4 separate regions of the Homo sapiens genome follow, and regions 2, 3 and 4 are each linked to region 1. Evidence: promoter capture Hi-C in 16 types of primary human blood cells and fetal thymus (Javierre and others, 2016). All regions are on one chromosome and are shown on one strand. The core of a region is centred on a gene start or on the middle of the fragment in contact, and the rest is flanking DNA. Distances in the headings are between cores, read along the strand shown.

Region 1 (2,545 bases), core at 22-2,521:
GTCGGGGACCCGGGGCCAGGCGGGGTCAGACGGGACGGGCGGACACTGCCCGTCACCCCGGGGCTCCGGCCCTCCCGCCAGCCGAGGCTCAGTGGGCAGGGGGCTGGGCTCCCCCGACCCCGGGCCAGGGCGGATCGCGGGCAGAGGTGGCTCCGCCCGGGGCTCCGGTTTCAATTTCGCAACGTGACGGTGCAAACCTGAGGCCTACAAACGCCAGCGGCGACGGTCCGCGCCCCGCCCGTCCGCCAGGCCCGGGCTCCCCAGCTCCCCGTACGCCGCGGCCGCCGCCCGCCCACCGGGCCTGGCGCCCCAGCCCTCATGCGGCCGCCGGCCCCCGGCACCGCGCGGCGCCCGTTCCGGCTCGCGGCCGCAGGTTCGGCCGCGGCACTTACTCAGCTCATCCTGGGAGGCGGAGGCGGCGGCCGCAGCCATGTTGCGCCGGGGAGGGAACGAGGGAGGGGCTGGGGGGGCAGGGCGCGGCCGGGGGGCTCGCGGCTCGCGGTGCGGCAGGGGCCGCGAGCCGCCTCCGTTCACTCGGCGCGGACCGCGCTGTGCCCCGAGGCCCGCCCGCCGCCGCCGCCTGCGTCCTCCGCGTCGCGAGCGTCGCCCTTCGCTGCCCCCGCGAGCTCGCGACTCGGGCGCTCCCGCAGCCTCGCGCCTCTGCGGAGCCGCTGCCGCTGCCGCCGCCGCCGTCTGTGCGGCCGAATCCCCGTGCGCCAGGCCCGCGCGGCGGCTCTGCGACTCCGCGCCGCGCTCGCCCAACTCACGCCGGTTTTATATTTAGAAAGAGCTGAGCCATCCTCCCAGCGGCCCCCCCGCCGGGCCCCTCGCGCGCCCGCCCGCCCTCGCTCGCTCGCGGCTCGTCCTGCCCACCTGTCGCCGCCCGCCCCGCGTGCGCTCCCCGCGCGGACTCGACACGCGGCGGCCTGTGCGGGCGGCCCGGCCTAACCGCGCCGCCGCGCGCGCAGGGCCAGTCCCCCGCGGCCCGGGGGCGGGCCTCTGACCTGAGTCGGAGCCGGTCTCCATGCCGCGGACGCTGCGCTCGGCGCCGCGAGGTGAGGGCTGTAGAGCGAGGCGTTCGGCGGGCCGGGCCCCGGGGAGCCGCGCGCCGCAGTCCGTGAGGGGCTGGGCCGAGCGGGCCCGGGCTGCCCTAGCGGCCGGGGGAAATCCTCGAGGCGGGGCCGGAGCGCCCTTTTCCGAGGTCTGCGGCTGTCACGTTGGCTGGGCCCGACCTGGGGAAACACGCCTGTCCAAAGGAAGAGACGTGGACTCAGAAAAGTAGAGCCGGGCTCGGAGTCGGCGGGAGGAAGCCCCGCCCTGCGCCTCCCGCCGAACTTCTCGGCCCCGGCGCTGACTCAGTCCCGGACGAGCCCCTGCGCCGCAGCGGCCCCCGACAGCCCAGTTCTGGTGTGGAGGTGGCTGGTGCTCCCAAAACGGCTAGCGGGAGCAGGGGGTCCACTCAGCCCTGCAAAAGTTAGATAAGGCAAGATTCCTAAAGTTCACATGGAAGTATCTATGCCTATGTGAGCTCTGAGATTTTGTTCAGATACCCTATGTTCTTTTCGGTAACTAGAGTGATTTATTTTCGATATGCTGATTTTAACTTTCTGCCTTCGCTTTGTCCGTGAGGTCATGTACACTTGCAAAATGAAATTCAAATTCAGGGGTTGCATAATTGCTGTACTTTAAGTGATGGTACTGTCATAACAAATTAGATACAAGATCAGATACTTTTTTTATATAAGAAGAAATCAAGTCTTAAATAGATTGAAATTGCATTTATTCCTTAAAGCAGAAATCTATAAAGCCCTAAGTAATGTCTTAAAAATGGAATATATGTCATTCCTGTTGTAACATAGGCCAAGTACAAGGTACAACACTGAAGACATTTTTATTTCCTTTATTGTTTTTGTTATAGAAATTATACATGATCTTGGGCCGGGCGCGGTGGCTCACGCCTGTAATCCCAGCTCTTTCGGAGGCTTAGGCGGGTGGATCACGAGGTCAGGAGTTCGAGACCAGCCTGGCCAACATGGTGAAACCCTGTCTCTAATTAAAAAATACAAAAATTAGCTGGGCGTGGAGGCGCGCGCCTGTAATCCCAACTACTCGGGAGGCTGAGGTAGGAGAATCGCTTGAACCCGGGAGGCGGAGCTTGCAGTGAGCCGAGATCGCACCACTGCACTCCAGCCTGGGGGACAGAGCGAGACTCCGTCTCAAAAAGAAAAAAAAAAGAAAAATTATACATAATTTTTGTAAAAAAAAAATGCAAATGATTTGGAGTATCATAAAATTAAAAGTGAAAGTCCTTCCTCCTAGCCCCACCATCCCACTCTGCAGAGAAATTATGACTAACAGTTACAGTTAAGTGTGCAGAAGACCTTTTCTCTGGACATATATATACAGCCCCATGTATGGCTTTGATGGGGACAGGTTTCTACAATAAAGTTCTGGATCAATTATTCCTTCACACACATTGTTCCATGTTAATTCAAAACACTGCACTACCATCACCCTTTTTTGTTTGTAACTTCATACTACACTA
Region 2 (2,545 bases), core at 19-2,518, 1.3 Mb after region 1:
ACAGCCCTCTGTGGCTTGCGACATGTCATCCTGAATGCTCTCTGAAAACGTCCTTTGTCCTCACCAGCCGTCCACTTCAGAAGTGGTGGTGTTATTCTGAGGCAGGGCTTGGGATGCCATATAGAATAAAGCTATGATTGTACTAAAAACCACCAGAGGATAAGCGGCTAACACAAACATGAAGAAGGCCTAAGCACATGCTGTACCAGGGGAAAGAATGAGCGAATGATGCATTGAGACTGCTTTGTTTCTGAGGTCTGGGTGCTCACAGGCAGCCCCAATACGCTTGCTAGTGAGGTCGATAGGATTTGTTTGGTAAGCGTACTAAATTCTGGGGCCCAAAGCCCTGTCTCCTGAAAGGTGCCAGCCTAAGTGTCTAAGATTCCTTATGAATTGGGAGGGCTCCATGCTGTGTTCTTGGGTTCTGGTGGCATTGGGGACCTCCCTCGCCCCTCATGCACACACATACATCTACTATCTTCCTCAGAGCTCAACCCTAGAAATCCAAGCTTCCCTCCATAAGTTCCAACAAACACCACAGCCTTCTGCTCTGATGGAGAAACGTTACACGTTTCCTCCTTACCACCATGCTGCTTTTAAAACTTTTAGTAGCCTGTAATCCCAGCACTTTGGGAGGCCAAGGCAGGCAGATCACTTGAGGTCATGAGTTTGAGACCAGCCTGGACAACATGGTGAAACCCTGTCTCTACTAAAAATACAAAAATTAGCCGGGCATGGTGGCACACACCTGTAATCCCAGCTACTGTGGAGGCTGAGGCAGGAGAATCGCTTGAACCTGGGAGGCGGAGGTTGCAGTGAGCTGAGATTGCGCCACTGCACTCCAGCCTGGGCGACAGAGCAAGGCCCTGTCTCCAAGAAAAAAAAAAAAAAAAAACAAAACCTTTTAGTAGAAGCAAAGTCACATGCTCTGGGACACTTATATTATTTCAGTGACAATTTCCCACCACAAGGAACACTGAAATACCACAGGAAATGGTGAATATGAATGGGCAGGGCTGGGCTAAATTTCATCGTGGAAACTTTCTACCAAAATACTTTCCATACAAATTCACTTTCTTTAGTTTTGATGACTACCCACTGGATATTGTGGCCAGCTGCTATCGACCAACCAGGAAACTGGAAAATAAATAAATAAACTGTAATCAACTATTTCATATGGCCTTTTAGGAACTCTGGGTCTGGGTCCTTTTTTTGGTGGGAGCATAGAAAAGTGGTACTCCAATCTAAACTGAGCAAATGGAGGACTTTGGAGGTCAATACACACACACACACACACACACACATATACACACATATATATGTACACACACATATATATGTATATATATATATATTTTTTTTTATTTTGAGACAAGGTCTCCTTCTGTTGCCCAGGCTGAAGTACAGTGGTGCAATCTCAGCTCATTGCACCCTCAACCTCCCAGGCTCAAGCAATCCTTCCACCTCAGCCTCTTGGGTAGCTGGGACTACAGGTATGTGCCACCATGCCGGACTAATTTTTACATTTTTTATAGAGATGGGGCTCTCACTATGTTGCCCAAGCTGGTCTTGAACTTATGGGCTCAAGTGATCCTCCCACCTTGGCCTCCCAAAGTGCTGGGATTACAGGTGTGAGGCACCCTACCTGGTGTGTATGTGTGTGTATATATATGTATATTCAACCAGACCCTACTCAGAATAGTAAAGCATATTTAATTACAAAAACTCTTTATTATTTCATAAGAATAGTAGAGAAAATCTGACAGAAAGGGAAAGGAAGGTAGGTAATTAACATTTAGGGAGCACCTATTTTATGCCAGCACTTTGCTAGGACTATGACATAAAGAATGCTATATAACTCTCACAACCATCTCATAAGGTATTATTACCTGCTCTCCATTCTCCTCCTTTTTAGGTTAGGAACAGGTTCACTGAGGTTAGTAACTTGCTCATGGTCACCCACTTGTAGTGACAAAGCCGAATTCAAATGTGGTTCTTTTTTCACTTTCCCCTGGTGTACTAAAGAGAAAGCTTGTATAGAGTCTTAATCCATACGGATGTCCATTATATTTAAGGCAGCCTGGTTGTTAAAATAAGTAGCACCATTCAATAAGAAAAACCGATGTTATACATCTATAGATGTATATACTCATTTCTAGAAATACTCATTTCTAGTTATATTGTGCTATTCATTTTCATGCTAATTCAGAAGAACAGATAATAGGGTCTGTAGTAGTTGTAAGCAGCCCTTGAATGTGAAAGTGTTAACAATTTTAATCCAACTCCAAGAGGACCAGAACTTGGCATTCCTTAGATGCAGCATTTAAAATTGTTCCCAGTGCCCTTTGAATGCTACTTTTCCCAGCCAAGGCAGGCTTATGTGGAGGAGATAAAGATGATAGCTTGAGGACTAAGGGTCCAACCCTATATAAATTACATTGGGGGAAATAGGGGAAGGTCTTTGAAGCTCAGAGTCTCTGACTGATATTTTGGGTAGATTTCAACCCTCTGCATTCTCTTCTATTTGTTTCTAGAGAAAACTGTG
Region 3 (2,545 bases), core at 16-2,515, 1.2 Mb after region 1:
GTCATCTCTTGGTACATGTGGGAGATTGATTCAAGGAGCCTCTCGTATACCAAAATCCGAGTATATTCAAGTCTGTTAGTCAGCCCTGAAGAACTCACGTATAGAAGTCAGCCCTCTGTATATACACGCGGGTTTTGCATACTATGAACACTGTAGCATCAATCTGCAGTTGGTTGTAAAACAATCCCTGTATAAGTGGACTTACATGGTTCAAGCCCATGATGTTCAAGGGTCAACCGTATATCCTTTTGCAATTTGCTTTCTTATTAAGGGCTTTCTACGTGCAAGGCACCATGTTGGGCAGTGTGGATGAAAAGACAAGTTAGATAACATTTTGCATTGACATTAGCTAATATTGCCTCTTAGAAGAGCTTAAAATGCAGTATTTTACAGGTATTTTCCCTTTATTTTTAAATTTTAAAAAAATCTTTAGTTTTGTATTGGGCAGCCCCTGAATCAGAATAGGTTCAGAGAGGCCCCCTCACCATTGTTGGAAAGGAAGCTTCCTGCTCAGTATCTACCTTCTAATACTTAAATGTGGGACTGTAGCTCTGAATTAATAACATGCTTGTCTCTCTTGCTGCCACTTATGTAGCTTCTTTTTAGTATGTAGTTCTCCTAGAACATTTTAAAAGAAATCATCTATTTTGATAAATTTTTTTATTTTATCTTTAATTTTTTTGGGACAGGGTCTCGCTGTGTCACCTAGTCTGGAATGCAGTGGTGCAATCTTGGCTCTCTGCAGCCTCCGCCTTCTGGGTTCAAGCGATTCTTCTGCTTCAGCCTCCCTAGTAGCTGGGATTACAGGTATGCAACACCACGTCCAGCTAGTTTTTGTATTTGTTAGTAGAGATGGAATTTCACCATGTTGGCCAAGCTGGTCTTGAACTCTCAACCTCAGGTGATCTGCCTGCCTCAGCCTCCCAAAGGGCTGGGATTACAGGCGTGAGCCACCATGCCCGGCTTTATTTTGAGAAATCTTTTAGTAATTGGCAACAGAAATGATAAGTTTTGATCATCCATTTCTAACAGTTGTCAGTCAACACTAGTCCTGTGTCTGCATATGAAGATTATTCACCTTTATAAGATTTCCAAAATAAATATGATGATGTTTCTCAAAATTAAGAATTGTTTGGAATTTAGGTTTACAACTTAAACACAACCAAACCCACAAAACAGACACATTCTAGCTAATACATTTTATGTGACAATTGATGTTTTGGCAAATGCAATCGCTATTCACAGTGTAAAGAGGATGCCCTTAGCGACGGCATGCATTTCTTTGGGTTTGCTTGCCTATATCACTGCATGCCCCATGGTACCTCAGTTCTCCCACCAGATTCCTCTATTCAAAAGATTATAAACTCTTCATTTATATAGCACAGTATGAAGTCATTTGGGCTTCATTAGGCTCAGTATTGCCCATAGACCTAAGCAAACAGGAGGGACTCTTGCCGCCACATTTTAGAGGATCCAGTACACACACGCGAGCACATAAATTTGTTAAAGGACAGATGAGAACTTCTGTGCTTGGGATCTGGCATTTGGCTCTGGCACAGAACAACCTGGAACTTTGAACGTCTGCTTCTGTGACTAACACCATTTATACCCTGTGGAAACACCTCTTGCCCTGTGTTCTTGAAAGAAAGGCGGCTGGGTTGGACTGCTGTGAAGGTTTACGAGTTATGCCTCTGTCGAGGTCAGAAATGGACAGTGCATTTTAGTGCCGGGAATTGTTGAGCAGCAGAACTTAGGTAAGAGAAAAGGCAAATTATTAACTTCCAAATACCTCCTCTCAGATCAGAGGAATTCAGTGGAATTGTGCACAACCGAGAATTGTTTCCCTTTAGTGAGAGTCCATTTTCCTGTTTTCCTTATTCTCATTTGTGATTCTGGAGCTCGTCAGAATTAGTTCACTATTCACAACAGTTGCACTGTTGGCTAAGGAACTATTTCTGCAATATTAAATATTTGATAATTCCTGTTATATTTGTGTGTATATATATATAGGTTTATAAGTAACATAAGTGAAGCTTGATACTGATTCTCTAGTAACAAATATATTGTATTAAGATAATACAATTTGCAATACATATAATTTATGACAAAGTTAAAAATATCCTACTATTCTGTGATAATTGATCTTATGTATTATGGACTGAATGTGTATGGGATCTTTGGGGTGTCAATTTTCTGGCCAGAAACCTCTGTGGTCACAGCACCTTTGCCCGAGTTCTTGTCCTGTGTCCAGGTAGAAGAAGGTACACAGACAAGTGAAAGGTGAACAAGACAAAGAGCTTTATTTAGTGTTACAACAGCTTGGAGGAGACCCAGAGTGGGCAGCTCCTCTCTGTAGGCAGGTCATGTGTCCAGTGTTCAGTTCTCAGTAGAGAGGAGGCCCTGGAGAGGGTGGCTCCCCTCTGCAGACAGGTTGTCTCTGCAGCTCTCAGTGGAGAAGGTAGCTTCTCATGCCTGTAATCCCAGCACTTTGGGAGGCCGAGGTGGGTGGATCAGCTAAGGTCAGGAGTTCGAGACCAGCCTGGCC
Region 4 (2,545 bases), core at 20-2,519, 1.0 Mb after region 1:
AAAATAATATGGAAAGCAAAGAATCTTGGTCTAGGACAACAGTGATATTCTTATACTGAAAGGAAGTAACATTATGTATCAAAAGAAATTATACAACTTTGATGTGAGATATAACATTATGTTTTTTAGAGACACAGTCGCACTCTGTCACCCACGCTGGAATACAGTGGTGCAACCATAGCTTACTGCCTCTTCAAACTCCTGGGCCCAAAGGATCACATCTCAACCTCCCAAGTAGCTGGGACTACAGGCACGTGCCATCACACTTAGCTAATTTTTCTTATTTTTTGTAGCGATGGGGTCTTGCGGTGTTGCCCAGGCTGGTCTTGAACTCCTGGACTCAAATGATCTTCCTGCCTTGGCCTCCCAAAGTGCTAGGATTATAGGTGTGAACCACCACGTCCAGCCATAACTTTAAAAAAGTTTAAGAAGACGTTAAAACGTTGAAGCAATATTTAAAAACATTAAAAATCTTACCATAAAATGCTGAATTTCTACTCTAGCTTTTTTTCTTCTCTGCATGAACTTTGGCCAACCTAGCACCAGGGAGTAGCTCCCCCCTTGGTTGCTGCAAGTTAGAGAATAGCTTTCTCCTTCACCTTACTCTCCTCTGGAAATCTATGGCCTCTTTAGCTCCAGAGATAGGACAAAAAGTAATATGTATGGAATGGCTAGTAATTATTAGCTGGTTTTTTTTTTTGTTTTTTTTGTTTTTTTTTTCCTTAAGAAACCTGCAAAGAACCAAAATTCCATTAAAACCTACTGGAAATATATTTTCACTTGATGCCTGAAAATGTTTTTTGTTTGTTAATCATCAAGGATTTCATTAGCTGAACTTAACATACACATAACTCTTTTTAATTCTAAATAATTATCCAAAGTTGCTTCCATTGCTTTCCCTTGCTTCTCTGGATTGTTTTTAGATGATTCATTTACTCTTTGGTTAACTTTCATTTCATGCATAGGATACTTCTTGGTTGGCTTCTCTTTTTATTCTTGGTTTTCTTCAAAACTGATACTGCTTTAACCTTTTCTGTCCTTTTTTAATTGCAAATATTCTGTCCCTTCAGTTTTTTCTTATATTTTCCTCTGGAAATACTTATTATTTTAAAAATATTTTCCTTGCATGATTTAAGGCATAATCACCATATATCAAAAGCTCTATCCTTTTTTCTGTTATAGGACTTCATATTTCTGGGACGGAGTTGACAATATGTGTGAATTCTTAACCAGCTAGGACTACTTCCTCTTCTCAGCTTGTATTAATTTGTTAGGGCTGCCATAACAAAGAATCACAGATTGGTTGTCTTAAACAACAAAAATTTATTTTCTGACAATTCTGGAGGCTAGAAGTATAAGCTCAAAGTGTTGGCAGGGTTAGGTTCTTCTAAGGCCCCTCTCTTGGCTGATGGATGGCTGTCTTCCTAAGGTGGCTTCACTTGGTCTTCCCTCTGTGTATGTGTGTGTCCTAATTTCCTCTTAAGAACATCACTTACATTGGATTAGGGCACACACATATGACTTCATTTTACCTTAATTACCTCTATTCCAGGCCTTACTTCCCCTATAAGTCACATTCTGAGGTACCAGGGTTTAGGATGTGAACAGATGAATTTGAGAGGAATACAGTTCAGCCTATAACACAGTCCATCCCTCTACCTACTGCCTTTCATGCATGTATACCTACCTACCTACATATGTACATACATACCTCACTCCACATGTGGGATTTTGTTGGCAATTTTTCACTTGAATCCCAGGCCCCAATACATAGCAATATGATCAACTCTATATATAGTCATTAAAAATAAAGTAGCTAAAGGCTTTTTGTTTTTCACTCTTCATATTCATTGTTTTTAAATGCTTTATTTTTAATGACTTAAAGTACAAAATCCTTTTTTTGTTTGTTTGAGACAGGATCTTTTTCTGTTGCCCAGGATGGAGCGCACTAACGTGATCACAGCTCACTGCAGCCTCGACCTCCTGAGCTCAAGCAGTCCTCTCACCTCAGCCTTCTGAGTAGCTGGGATCACAGGTGCACACCCAGAGCCCAGCTCACTTTTTTTTTTTTTTTTTTTTGTAGAGATGAGGCCTGTGTGTCCCAGATTGGTCTTGAACTCCTGGGCTCATGATATCCTCCTATCTGGGCCTCCCAAAGTGCTGGGATTACAGGCCTGAGCCACTGTGCCTGGCCAAAATTCTTAATAGTTGTTTTGGAATACTGGAGAATATTATTGTGGCCAAATTCAGTGGAAGTGCTAATGCTGTTATTTTCTTCTGAGTTCTGAGGACTTGTTTCTTTTAGTGCTTTTTTTTTTTCAGCTATTGGTCTTGCTGCTCTCATGGTAAGTTATGCACTATTTGTTCTTTTCACGCATGTCTGATGATTCCTGAATCTAATATCTAGTCGGGGCTTTTCTCCTGAAATCCACATCTTTGTGTCCTACTACGACTGGATATATTCACTTAATTTTCCACAAGCATTTCACATTCAACATGCCCCAGACTTATTGTCCTCTTCACATCTGTGTCTTTTCTTTTATTC

What was found. Contacts are between HindIII fragments. The CHiCAGO score rates a contact against its expected background, and 5 or more counts as called.
Region 2: a contact is called between a fragment that was not itself captured here and the fragment with the promoter of ECPAS in region 1, in 2 of 17 cell types (non-activated CD4 T cells and activated CD4 T cells). The highest score is 8.7, in non-activated CD4 T cells.
Region 3: a fragment that was not itself captured here is called in contact with the fragment with the promoter of ECPAS in region 1 in 1 of 17 cell types (non-activated CD4 T cells); the score reaches 6.3 in non-activated CD4 T cells.
Region 4: a fragment that was not itself captured here is called in contact with the fragment with the promoter of ECPAS in region 1 in 1 of 17 cell types (total CD8 T cells); the score reaches 6.3 in total CD8 T cells.

What each region holds. Positions count from the first base shown.
Region 1 is chr9:111,483,112-111,485,656 of GRCh38, forward strand. It overlaps ECPAS (Ecm29 proteasome adaptor and scaffold), which reads right to left and starts at 1,272. Exons shown (of 50, transcript NM_001364929.1): 1 at 1,005-1,272. RefSeq lists silencers at 1-321, 592-711, 832-1,371. The HindIII fragment of the contact is 4,796 bases long and covers 1-2,545 here.
Region 2 is chr9:112,747,191-112,749,735 of GRCh38, forward strand. SNX30-DT (SNX30 divergent transcript) reads right to left here. Exons shown (of 1, transcript NR_186503.1): 1 at 1,694-2,545. It also overlaps a transcript of SNX30 not described here. Among named protein-coding and RNA genes, the nearest start is that of SNX30-DT, 2.1 kb to the right of the region's middle. The HindIII fragment of the contact is 1,522 bases long and covers 508-2,029 here.
Region 3 is chr9:112,730,484-112,733,028 of GRCh38, forward strand. No RefSeq gene overlaps it. Among named protein-coding and RNA genes, the nearest start is that of INIP, 14 kb to the left of the region's middle. The HindIII fragment of the contact is 1,531 bases long and covers 501-2,031 here.
Region 4 is chr9:112,490,858-112,493,402 of GRCh38, forward strand. All of the region lies in intron 1 of KIAA1958, which reads left to right. Among named protein-coding and RNA genes, the nearest start is that of HSDL2-AS1, 4.5 kb to the left of the region's middle. The HindIII fragment of the contact is 3,067 bases long and covers 1-2,545 here.